Linked DNA regions of Homo sapiens: all the other regions are linked to region 3. The links are contacts of gene promoters, found by promoter capture Hi-C in human tissues and cell types (Jung and others, 2019). All regions are on one chromosome and are shown on one strand. Each heading gives the region's core, a stretch centred on a gene start or on the middle of the fragment in contact. The rest is flanking DNA. Distances are from core to core; before and after follow the strand shown. Region 1 holds the start of NUMB (NUMB endocytic adaptor protein). Region 2 overlaps HEATR4 (HEAT repeat containing 4). Region 3 holds the start of ALDH6A1 (aldehyde dehydrogenase 6 family member A1).

The links. Contacts are between HindIII fragments. The study calls those that stand out against the background at their distance.
Region 1: a fragment that was not itself captured here is called in contact with the fragment with the promoter of ALDH6A1 in region 3 in 1 of the 25 tissues and cell types used here (stomach).
Region 2: a fragment that was not itself captured here is called in contact with the fragment with the promoter of ALDH6A1 in region 3 in 1 of the 25 tissues and cell types used here (spleen).

The regions. Positions count from the first base shown.
Region 1 is chr14:73,456,435-73,460,439 of GRCh38, reverse strand. It overlaps NUMB (NUMB endocytic adaptor protein), which reads left to right and starts at 1,894. Exons shown (of 13, transcript NM_001005743.2): 1 at 1,894-1,947. RefSeq lists enhancers at 498-1,031, 1,032-1,565 and silencers at 1,551-1,750, 1,941-2,030, 2,041-2,170. The HindIII fragment of the contact is 4,625 bases long and covers 1-3,578 here.
Region 2 is chr14:73,496,001-73,499,852 of GRCh38, reverse strand. HEATR4 (HEAT repeat containing 4) reads left to right here. Exons shown (of 18, transcript NM_001220484.1): 13 at 713-782; 14 at 1,509-1,698; 15 at 3,174-3,252. It also overlaps a transcript of ACOT1 not described here. Among named protein-coding and RNA genes, the nearest start is that of RIOX1, 7.0 kb to the right of the region's middle. The HindIII fragment of the contact is 3,819 bases long and covers 1-3,419 here.
Region 3 is chr14:74,082,099-74,085,702 of GRCh38, reverse strand. ALDH6A1 (aldehyde dehydrogenase 6 family member A1) reads left to right here and starts at 1,250. Exons shown (of 12, transcript NM_005589.4): 1 at 1,250-1,356. The coding sequence starts at 1,309. It overlaps LIN52 (lin-52 DREAM MuvB core complex component), which reads right to left and starts at 747. Exons shown (of 6, transcript NM_001024674.3): 1 at 710-747. The coding sequence starts at 728. It also overlaps a transcript of BBOF1 not described here. RefSeq lists an enhancer at 659-838. The HindIII fragment of the contact is 23,259 bases long and covers 1-3,604 here.

The DNA of each region.
Region 1 (4,005 bases), core at 17-2,516, 630 kb after region 3:
GGTTAGCAGAAAGAAGAAAGAGACAAAGCACATTTCCAAAGTCCACATCCTTGAGGTGAATGCCTCCTTGACAGTGTCTTTTTTTTTTTTTTTTTTTAAGACAGAGTCTCACTCTGTTGCCCAGGCTGGAGTGCAGTGGCACCATCTGCAGAGACAGGGGTTTCACCATGTTAGTCAGGCTGGTCTCAAACTCCTGACCTCAGGTGATCTGCCCGGCTCGGCCTCCCAGAGTGCTGGGATAACAGGCATGAGCCACCGCACGGCCTGACAGTGTCTTAAACTATCCCTGGGTGTTGTTTCATGGCCCATGGGTATATGTATCATAGGTGGGGTTGTGAGAAAGTACATTTAAATCTGATTTAGAAACTGAAAGAGTAATCAGACCAGCATTTTGTTATTTAGGAGCAGGAAAAGTGGGTGAAAAAAAAGGAAAAACAAAAAGCTAATGATGAATATATTTCTAGGAGCACAAGAGTTTTTATAGCAACATTAGATTTCTCAAAAATGCCTACTGTGATTTGTACCCAAGTGAATAAAAAATGCAATCATTTATTCTTGTGCATTGTGCCAAGTGAGGAAAAAAAAAAAACACACACACACACAACCCGGCAATTCATTCAATGGCCCTAATTTAGACTGCTAGGAAGAGGTTTAGAAAAAAAAAAGAGAGAGAGAGAGAGAAGCTTTTAAAGTATCTGACACACAGCTAGTAGGGCTATTTAAGAACTGCTGAACAGAAAAACAAAGTGGCAGTGAGAGGTGGGGGAAAGCAGAATTCTCATTTCCAGAGCATCATAAAGGGTATAATGTGGCCCGCTTATTAGAAAGTTGCTGGCCGGGCGCGGTGGCTTACGCCTGTAATACCAGCACTTTGGGAGGCCGAGGCGGGCGGATCACCTGAGGTTGGGAGTTCGAGACTAGCCTGACCAACATGGAGAAACCCCGTCTCATGCCTATAATCCCAGCTACTCGGGAGGCTAAGGCAGAAGAATCGCTTGAACCTGGGAGGCGTAGGTTGCGATGAGCCGAGATAGCACCATTGCACTCCAGCCTGGGCAACAAGAGAGAAACTCCGTCTCACAGAAAAAAAAAAAAAAAAAAAAAGTTGCTAATGGCTGTCTGGTCAATTGGCAGGGGTCAGCCAGGAGTGGATCTGGAAGCTGGAGAACTCTCAATACGCCACTTCAGTTTATTGACGACATTTATAATTGCAACCGAAGTTGACTGATTTCTGCTAAATGAAAGTTTGCGCTTTGCCCTTTAGCATTGAGGCTCCTGGAAAGAACTTCAATGAAATTGGATGCATTGAGACCAAAGAAAAGAAGGGGACATTTTTATCTCTCTGATACCTTTCTCCCCAGGGCTTGGAAACACTTCTTAAACACAACCTCTAATGTTGGTGTTTTGTAAGTACTACCCCTATGAATAAAGCTAGCAGAGATAAGCTTCTCCTTGCAGGAAGTGAGCTGGAGAAGTGGAAAAGTTTACAGAGAAAACTCTACAACAAAGACTTAACCCTTCCCGGGTAACCACGAATGTGAGCGTCTGCCCCTCCTTTGCTTTCTACTGCGCAACCAAACTGTGCACAAGCGTGAATCAACCTTAACCGTCACGTCTCTTGCCAGTTAGCTTAACAGACACTTTTAGCAGCCTATCATAACTTCGAATTGCCCAACCCTCAACCAATTACAACTAAAGCTTGGGCTAGGACGCTCCAGGTCCGGGCGGGGGCGAATACCGGGTTTAGGAAAAGGGGCGGTAAAGAGCGATGACGGGCGGGTATACTAAACCAATCAGAGAGGAGAGCTGCCGCCCCACTATCCAATGGATAGGTTAGAAGTATGAAAGAGGGTGGGCCTGTTGTCATGGGGGAGGTGGTGGCGCTTGGTGGCCACTGGCGGCCGAGGTAGAGGCAGTGGCGCTTGAGTTGGTCGGGGGCAGCGGCAGGTGAGTGCCGGTAACGCGGGTCAGAGATCTGGGGGCCGTCGCGGGGCGGAATCTCCAGCTCAGCACTCCGGAGGCGGAGGCCGGAGGAAGGGGGCCTGGACTTCGGGTCGGGGCCCGGGCCGGGGCCGGGGCCAGGGCGGAGGCGGCGGGGGCGGCGGCGAGTTCGCGCTGACTGGGCTAGGGGGAGAGGGGCTGGGCTTCTGGCTGCGGAGTTCTCCCGAGGAAGGTAGGCTACGGCCGGACCCGCGCGGGTCAGGCCAGGAGGTCCCTTGGGACGTCCAGCTGCTCCGGTCTAGCGCGCTGACCGGCGGCCACTGTGTGAGGAGTAGGTATCTGAGGAAACGGAAGCGGCCAGGGTCCCAGAGAGGGGGTGACCTGTAACGACCTGCTTCAAGGGCGGGGTGTCTTGGGAATACCCAGGACGGCTTGGGTGCCAGGGAGAAAAGGAATCCGGGAAGCCCGGCAGCGGCCGGTGAGGAGAGAGCGGGGTGGGGGGCAGGGGAACTGGGAGTGGCCCCGGTCCGAGGGAGGTAGGAAGGCCGAGGGTGGCCAGGGTCCCGGGTGACAGGGAGCAGACTTGCTCCAAGTAGGGGCGTCTGAGGAAACGCTCGGAGGGGGTTGGGGACCCTCCTGAGAAAAGCGGCTGTCCAAGGGAGGGGGCTCCTGGAGAGATGAGGAGCAGCAGGTCTTCGGAGGGTCGGACGAGTAGAGATCTTGCACCGCCTGGGGGAAGAACCGGAGCTCCCTGCGCCCCCATAGCTGAGCTGGGATGGGAGACCCAACTGGCCTGGCCGCTCCGGCTCTGAGGATCCCTAAGGGACCAGGAAAGAAGTCCTCGAGGAGTGGCTCGCGTTTGAGACCGGGGTGAGGAGCCAGCAGGGGAGTGGAAGTTCCCTCGGTCGGAGAGGAGTCATGCAAAATGGGACGGAGATGGGCGGAGGTGGGAGAGAATCCCTATAGGAGGGGATAAGGTAGAGAAAGAAAGTTGCCCGAGGAGAGAGTAATGGTTTCGTGGAACTGGCTAGGACAGTAGATATATGAGAAATTAACAGTGGAGCCATGTAGGTTCACAGGTCTTCACAAATAGAAGAAACTTCAGTTTCGTAATTAATATCAAGATGACATCTAGGACCAAAGCAAAGCTCCTAAAAGCAAGGTTAAGTGACTTGTTTTAGAAAAGAAATTTGTTTTAGGATGATGGCAGTAATATTAGGAAATAGGTTCATTGACAGGGTGGGGAATTTGGGAGGGAAAAGGGGAGGAGTAGCTGAACTAAAGGAGTAGAAGTAAATACTTATCAGAAAGAGGGTAGGCATACTCGGCTAAAGTGAAAAGAAGTTTTGAGTTCTAGTTCCACCACTTAGCTAAGTTTCTGTGCAGTTTCCTCATCAGAATACTAATAGTAATAGTTCCTACTTTATAAGGTGGTGGTGGTGTTTTTTTTTTCATGTGAGTTGGTATTTGTAGAGCTTTTAGGATAGTGACTGGCACATAGTCGTGTGTACTGGATTGTTCAATAGACGATAAAGACCTGACTTCTTAAATAGAAGGTAAAGACCTGGCTCGCAGATGTTAGCTTGCATCAAAATCACCTGGAGGGCTTGGTAAAATGTAGATTGCTTGGCCCCACCTGGGGGTTTCAGTAGGTCTGGGGTGGGGCCCAATAATTTATATTTATCTCAAATGATGATCACGTTGGTCAGAGGACCACACTTTAAGAACCACTTACTTTAATGAAACCGGTAATAATGGTAGCAACTTTAAAATACCTGCTAAAGAGACAGGTAGAGGCAAATTGCCTAAAAGATCCTATTATAAAGGATACTCATTTTTAGCCTGTGTTTTTCAAACTGTGGATTGTGATTTATTAGTAATTTATAAAATCAATGTTGTGAGTTTTTACCTGCATTGAAAATAAAATGTAGAACAGAATAAACTGACATTGCATTTGGTAAGGAAAAGTATTGTTTTGGGAAACTTTTCTCCTACATGTATGTACTAGGTCACAATGTAAAGTGTATTTCTTTTTTTGAGTTCCTGGCCAAAGGATAAAATATA
Region 2 (3,852 bases), core at 261-2,760, 590 kb after region 3:
GCCAGCCCAGACTTCGATTCTAGAGCACACCCCTGAATCCTGTTCTCACCTCAGTTAACTAGCTTCTCATTACCTGGGTGCTGATGGGCTTTAGGATCAACTCCCATAAATGGAGTTATAATTCCATTATTAGGGAAAAATCTGTTTGAAGTGTTCAAGAGAAGCCATATGGCCCCAGATCTGTAGACTGAGAAAATCAATAGCAGATAATTCAGCTAATGTACTCACTATGCATATAGGTTGGTACTTTAGGCTCCAGCTCATTTGTCACCAGAATTGATAGGTCATTTTTCAATTATAGCTCCTTTTAGAGATAAGTGGTTTCCCTGTTTCTGATTCATTCTTTTGCTTTGTTTTGTTTTTTTGCTTTTTTGAGATGGAGACTCGCTCTGTCACCCAGGCTGGAGTACAGTGGCACGATCTCAGCTCACTACAACCTCCGCCTCCCAGGTCCAAGCAATTCTCCTACCTCAGCCTCCGAGTAGCTGGGATTACAGGCGTGTGACACCATGCCCGGCTAATTTTTGTATTTTTAGTAGAGACAGGGTTTCACCATGTTGGCCAGGCTGGTCTCAAACTCCTGATGTCAAGTGATCCGCCCACCTTGGCATCCCAAAATGCTGGGATTACAGGGGTGCACCACCGCACCCAGCTGTTTCTGGTTCATTCTTGCTCTGGTCCTCCCCACTCAACACTGCCTTTTCCATCCCAGGTGCTTGAATGCCTCCTGAACCTGATGCAGAGAGATCCTTACTGGAAAATCAAGGCCTTTGCCATTCGAGGTATTATAGAAGTAGTGCCCCAAACTCTTCAACCTTAAATACCTTTGCCTATGCAAGTAGAAATGATCCCCTGAAACTCTCTAATGGGGTGAAGTGCAGGAGAGGTAATGATCTTAGCTTTTCAGAAGTTCCTTGTCTGAAAAGAGAAAGATAATTTTCTTCAATTTTTAGTGAAAGATCCTGAGTCTAGGTATATGTCAAACTTAAGTTAAAGAAAGGGCTGACAAGACAGTCCCTGCCAACAGAATTAAGGATAAGTTCCAAGTAGGTATCCAGTGCTGGATGCATCTTGCTTTCCTTGGAGATCTCAACTATTACGCTCTGCAAAAGTCAGATCAGTTTCAAGACTGCTACAGACCTAAAACCCTGCCCCTTAATCTGCCTAGTTTCTTTTTAGAATCTTTGGCATTGCTTCTCTTTTTGACATAGATAAATAATTGTGCCTCCTTTCCCCATCACCCTGCTGGGACTAGGCAGGTCTTCCATGTTATTTGTTCTATATTTCATCCCAAAATAGGCAAATATCCTAACAGGCAAGGATGGGATGGAACATCCCTCTTCTAGGAATCCTTTGGAGGTAATGTCCCATTCTGACCTATCCCTAAAATTCTAATGGTGATTACCATCCAAAAGGGAAGGTATTGTTTGCAAAACTCAATTTATTTCTGGATGCTAGAATATAGTAAGCTCAGTCTTCAGTGACATGCTGCCCTCTAATCTCTGCAGCTTTGGGACAGATTGGGCAAGTAAGTCCCGAGCTGACGGATCTTCTGCTCTGGGCTATCCACTATGAAGAGTCACCAGGTGTACGGCTGGAAGCTTGCCGTAGCATCCTAGCCCTGAAACTTCAAGGGGACCGGGTCAGGGACACCTTCCTAGACGTGCTGCTCCTGGAGAACCACGATGCTGTTCTAAAGTAAGCACTAAACCTCTGGCTCCCACCATGACCTTATACTGCCAACTCTCACATCTTTGCTCATTGAATATGTCCCTGCCTTTCCAGGCTACCTAATGGCAGTAAAAGCACTGGTTCACCTGCACATTCACCACTCACCCAAGTAGGTAACTGAAAAACTGGCCTAAATTAGATTGAAAGTCAAGCTTATGTAGTTCATGCATCTTTTCTCCCCACCAGGATGGGTTTTGGCCGGGTGTGATGACTCACGCCTGTAATCCCAGCACTTTGGGAGGCTGAGGCAGGAGGATCACCTGAGGTCGGGAGTTTGAGACCAGCCTGACCAAAATGGAGAAACCCTGTCTCTACTAAAAATACAAAATTAGCCAGGCATGGTGGCACATGCCTGTAATCCCAGCTACTAGGGAGGCTGAGGCAGGAGAATCACTTGAACCTGGGAAGTGGAGGTTGCGGTGAGCCGAGATGGTGCCATTGCACTCCAGCCTGGGCAACAAGAGCAAAACTCCGTCTCAAAAAAAAAAAGGATGGGTTTTAAGTTATTCATATATTCAACTAACATTTATCAAATGCCTATTGGGACAACAAGTTTTAGAGTCAAAAAGACCAGGGTTTGAATTCCAGCTCTGGCATGCAATAGCTATGTGAGCCCGTGTAAGGTATTTAAACTCTGTGAGCCCATTTTTTTCATGTATCAAATGCAGGTGATAGTCTACATTATAGGGTTGTGGTGATAATTAATGAGATGACATGTTTAGCGCCTGTCATAAAGGTGTTCAGTAAATGGTACCTATTGGCACCTTCAAATATATTGTCTTGGCCAGATGAGGTGGCTCACATCTGTAATCCCAACACTTTGGGAGGCTGAGGCAGATGGATCACCTGAGGTCAGGAGTTCTAGACCAGCCTGGCCAACATGGTGAAACCTGTCTCTACTAAAAATACAAAAATTAGACGGGCATGGCCGGGTGCAGTGGCTCACACCTGTAGCCCCAACACTTTGGGAGGCCAAGGCGGGTGGATCACCTGAGGTCAGGAGTTCTAGACCAGCCTGGCCAACATGGTGAAACCCCATCTCTACTAAAAATACAAAAACTAGCTGGGCATGATGGCACGCGCCTGTAGTCCCAGCAACTCAGGAGGCTGAGGCAGGAGAATCGCTTGAACCTGGGAGGTGGAGGTTGCAGTGAGCCGAGACGAGATCGTGCCATTGCACTCCAGCTCTGGGAAACAGAGCAAGACTCCATCTCGCAAAAACAAAAAGTAAACAAAAAACCCACAAATATATTGTCTCAAAAACTGCACATTATTCCTGTAAGCTAAGCATTATACCATTTTTGCATATAAGGCTCAGCAAAACTGCACAGTTAGGATTGGAACTTGGGATTCTTACCTGATTCCAAGTCCTATATTTTCTACCCCCATACTTTTTTAAAGGGCAGGGTAGAATAATCTAAGAAGCCCTTCTTATCTTTCAGAGAAATGTACCAGACAATGAAGATACTCAACTTAGGAAATGAAGGAAACCAAGAAATGCTTCAGGAGATCAAGAACAGGGTAAATAAGTGCAAGCTCTGTTCTCAAGAGAAAATTCAGGACTCTCAAGAGTTCCTCAGACCCTGTCCTCCTCAAACATGTACATACCCTTTTTCCCACCATAGAAGTACTTTCTAAAACCCCAGACACAGATGCCACATCATTTGAAGATGCAAAGCATCTGTGCAAGATTGGGTTACAAGGTCCTACTAGTAAAGACAAAAACAAAACAAAAATCCTATTAGTCCTATCAAGTAACCCTCATTGTTTCAGAAATACTATTTCCCTCCCTTCCTATTTTCTCCCCATCAACCCCAAACCCAAGTTGTTTATTTTTCCTTTTTTTCAAATAGGCATAGAGAAGGAATAAGGGACTAGAGCTGGCCCCCTAGATTTTCTTCTTAATTTTTCTGAATTCCTAATCTGGGTTTTCTCACCAAAGAAAATCTCTAGCTGAAAGGATTAACATAATTTTTGCTTTTTTTTTTGAGGGGGGGACAGTCTCGCTCTGTCGCCCAGGCTGGAGTGCAGTGGTGTGATCTTGGCTCACTGCAACCTCCACCTCCTGGGTTCAAGTGATTCTCGTGCCTCAGCCACCAAAATAGCTGGGATTATAGGCAT
Region 3 (3,604 bases), core at 1-2,500:
ACTTGAAATGACTTGCATTTTACACAATATATAAACAGAAATCGTTAATTCACTCAGCCTTAAGAAACAACACGTAAAGCAGATGGAAGACAGGTTGCGACCTGTGCAAGACGACACTTAAAAGCTCAATACTGATTCTCCTCGCGACTCTCAGGGCGAGGGGCCGAGAACGTCCCCCGCTTCTCTTGCTGCCACGGCAATGGTCCCAAACTGAGGAGACAGGAGAGAGATCATGTTTCTCTTGCGGTTCAGTATCGAGATGAGGTCAGCCAGCAGCCCTGCGAGGGTTTGTGAGAATCATTCCATCCGTGCGCTCAATCAGAAGAGAACTGATCCTTTCAATGGGTACCCCAAGGAAAAAACTACAGTAAGCCACGTCCTCCAGAAACATCTCCTCCTCGACCCTCAGCCTCGCCCAAATAGAGATAAGGAAGGCACAGGGCGACCCCCCTGTCCTTTTACCCAGAATGAGTCCCTCCCTAGTGCCCTCCTCCACACGCCTGGTACAGAGCGGGGAAACTGGGCACCTCCGGAGCTGCTGTGAAGAACCGGTGAGCTGAAGACGGCGATGGATCTCAAGAAAAAAAATAAAAGGGAAAGGAGAAGAGCCCAAGAAAGAAATGTATGTTCGAGGGGCAGAGACAGAGTGGATGTTCCCAGTAGAGCAAAGAAGGAGGCTGCAGGCAAAGATCTCTAAGCCGGCTCTTACCGTCTGTGGGAGACGCCATCTTCCAACCCATGTCACGTGACGTGGCCAACCGTCGGCGGGAAAACGAGGTTCCATAAGCCACGCCCCCAAAGAGAAACCCTATCCCCAACTCGCAGCCCAGTCTCATTCCCTCGCCTCATAGGGCAATCTTTGCCTAGCCCCGCCCCTAAGTATAGCCACGCCCCTTACGCGGATGTTGAGGTGGAGCGACTGCAAAATTCTTGAAGGGTCTTATTTACTTTTTTCAGTGGGGGGGTGGGGCCTCGGTTCCGCCCTTGGCCAATCGGAGTTCCAGGTTAGGGGGGCGTCTTCCCCGTGTGCTCGGTAGGGAGTGTCCAAGTCAGGGGCGTCTTCTCTACCTCCGCCTACGTCATTGGCTGAGGTGGCAGAGGGCGAGAGCATTTTCGCTCCTAACCAATCACTTATCCCCAGGACGGGGGTGTGAGGAGAGGAATCAGGTGTTCGGACCAGTGATTGGCTGGAGAAAATAGTCCTCCCCACCAATGAGGAAGCCTGGCAGGATGGAGGGCGAGGCCTGGCAGCTGTAGTGCTTCTGGGCAGTAGAGGCGCGGGGTGCGGAGCTAGGGCGGCCGAGAGCCATGGCGGCGCTATTGGCGGCGGCGGCAGTGCGAGCCCGGATCCTGCAGGCGAGTGAGGGTGGTGCCAAGGCACCATGAAGCTAGGAATTGGATCCTTTCCGTCCGCTCCCTGAGCCATCCTCGGGCGGGACCACCTTCTTGGCCCAACCCCTTTTTGGCCAGACCTCCTACCCGACCTGTGCGGCCCTGTCCCATGCCCAGCCCTCACTTCATAACCTCCCTGGTCCCGGATCCAACCCTGGGCTGTTACCCTTGGCCCTCTACCCTTTTACTCCTAAGCCTCCTCTTTTCTGGCTCTCGCCCACTCTCCTTCTCCAGCTCTGCCCGCTCCCTGCTGTCACTCTCTTGCCCTCATCTCTCCATCCGCCCACCGTCTTTCCTTTTTACCTCTGCACCAGCCTTCTCTCTCTCCCCCAGAAACTACTCTTTTTGGTTACTCTGTCCCCTGCCGTGAGCGTCCACTTTGCCATTGCTCCCTTCCCCCACCCTACTTCACTATCCGTGGTGATCTGAGGTAAGGGGGAGGGGGGACGCGAGGGGCGAGGGTCAGTGTATGAACTTTGAATTTCCTTCTAGAGGTGGACTCTAGATTTTCACCAAAGGCAGCCATTTGCTAAGCTATTTTCCCTAAGTGTGGCTCTTTGTATTTTCCATGGACTGGCTGTCCCCTTTCTTGCCAAAACTTTGAGTTAAACTTTTTCTCAGCTAAGTTACAGTTTACATAGATAGGGCACATCTACATAGATAGGGTAGATAAGGGCACACAGTTAAAGCTACCAGTATGTTCCATGTATGTTCAAGGTACCAAACATCTTTAAAACGGGTGATAGAAAGTGGGAGCCAGGTAAGACAAGAAGTCTAAGTTCCCACCCCAAAATCAGCTCTTCTAGTGCTACACACCCTCATCTCTGCACTTGGGGGATTGAGTCCTCTCTGAAGCCAACCTAAGGAGAAATGGTAAAGCTACAGGAGTTGCATGCCTGAGGCCTGTAATCTCCAACTCTGTTTATAGTCTTTCCCCTGTTCATGGCCTACCAAGGATTTAGAGTATGTGGCAAGATTTACCGCAGGCAAGAAACAGTCTGCAAGAAACAACAGTGCCGTTCTTATTCATTACATCCAGTCTGAGAATTTCCTCTATATTGCTGAGCTTTTAGGTAATATTAGTATTCACCAGGTTTCCGTGAGTTCTAGTAAAGAAACTTGGGCAGTTTTAAGATTCTTGGCAGAGTCAGCAAAGATTCATTTTTAAATATGCTATTTAATGGGGAAGGTAGAAAGGATGAGTTTGAAGGGTTTGGCAGATGGTCTGGCCTCACTCATATTTCTTGCTGCGATCCTTGTTCTGTTCTAGTATCTTTTTTTAGTAGCAGGAAAACAAAGTTTCCACCCTATATTTTTCTTACCAACTTCTTGAAATCTTTTACTGAAATTGGCTTTTTTCCTTTGCCTCCTCTTCCCCTCCCATCACAATGAGTCATTGAGAACCTTAAGAAAGTATTTTGTCCTTTTCCATCAAGGAGAAGAATCTCTCTTTCCATGTACTTTTATTTCAGAAACAGACACTATGTATTTTCTGATTCATTTGGAGAAACTTCTGAAGTGACCTGGAAAAGAACAGATAGAGTAATCCTCAGCCAACTAGGAGTTGTAACGTGAATCTTTGATTAAAAGTTCGATAAAAAGTAGCCTACGGGCCAGGCGCTGTAGCTCCTGCCTGTAATCCCTGCACTTTGGGAGGCCAAGGTGGGTGGATCACCTGAGGTCAGGAGTTCGAGACCAGCCTGACCAACATGGTAAAACCCCTTCTCTACTAAAAATACAAAAATTAGCCGGGTGTGGTGGCGGGCGACTGTAATCCCAGCTACTCAGGAAGTTGAGGCAGGAGAATCGCTTGAACCCGGAAGACGGAGGTTGCAGTGAGCTGAGATCGTGCCATTGCACTCCAGCCTGGGCGACAGAGCAAGACTCCATCAAAAAAAAAAAAAAAAAAAAAAAAAACCTCGATTTTGGCAGCCATGAATATTAGAGAACTATCAAAAGGATTTATAGAGGAGAAAGTTAATGTTTTCAATTATTTTAAGTATTCAGCTTATTTTTCTCTGCCACGAAGAGTAGTCAAACTTAACCTAAAACCTCTCTCTGCTCCTTGTGATATTATCACTCCCATGCAGAGATAAAGGAATGTTCGAGACAGGGTCTCGCTCTGTCACCCAGGCTGGAGTGCAGTGGTGCAATCACAACTCACAGCAGCCTCGACCTCCCACGCTGAAGTGATTCTTCCATCTCAGCCCTC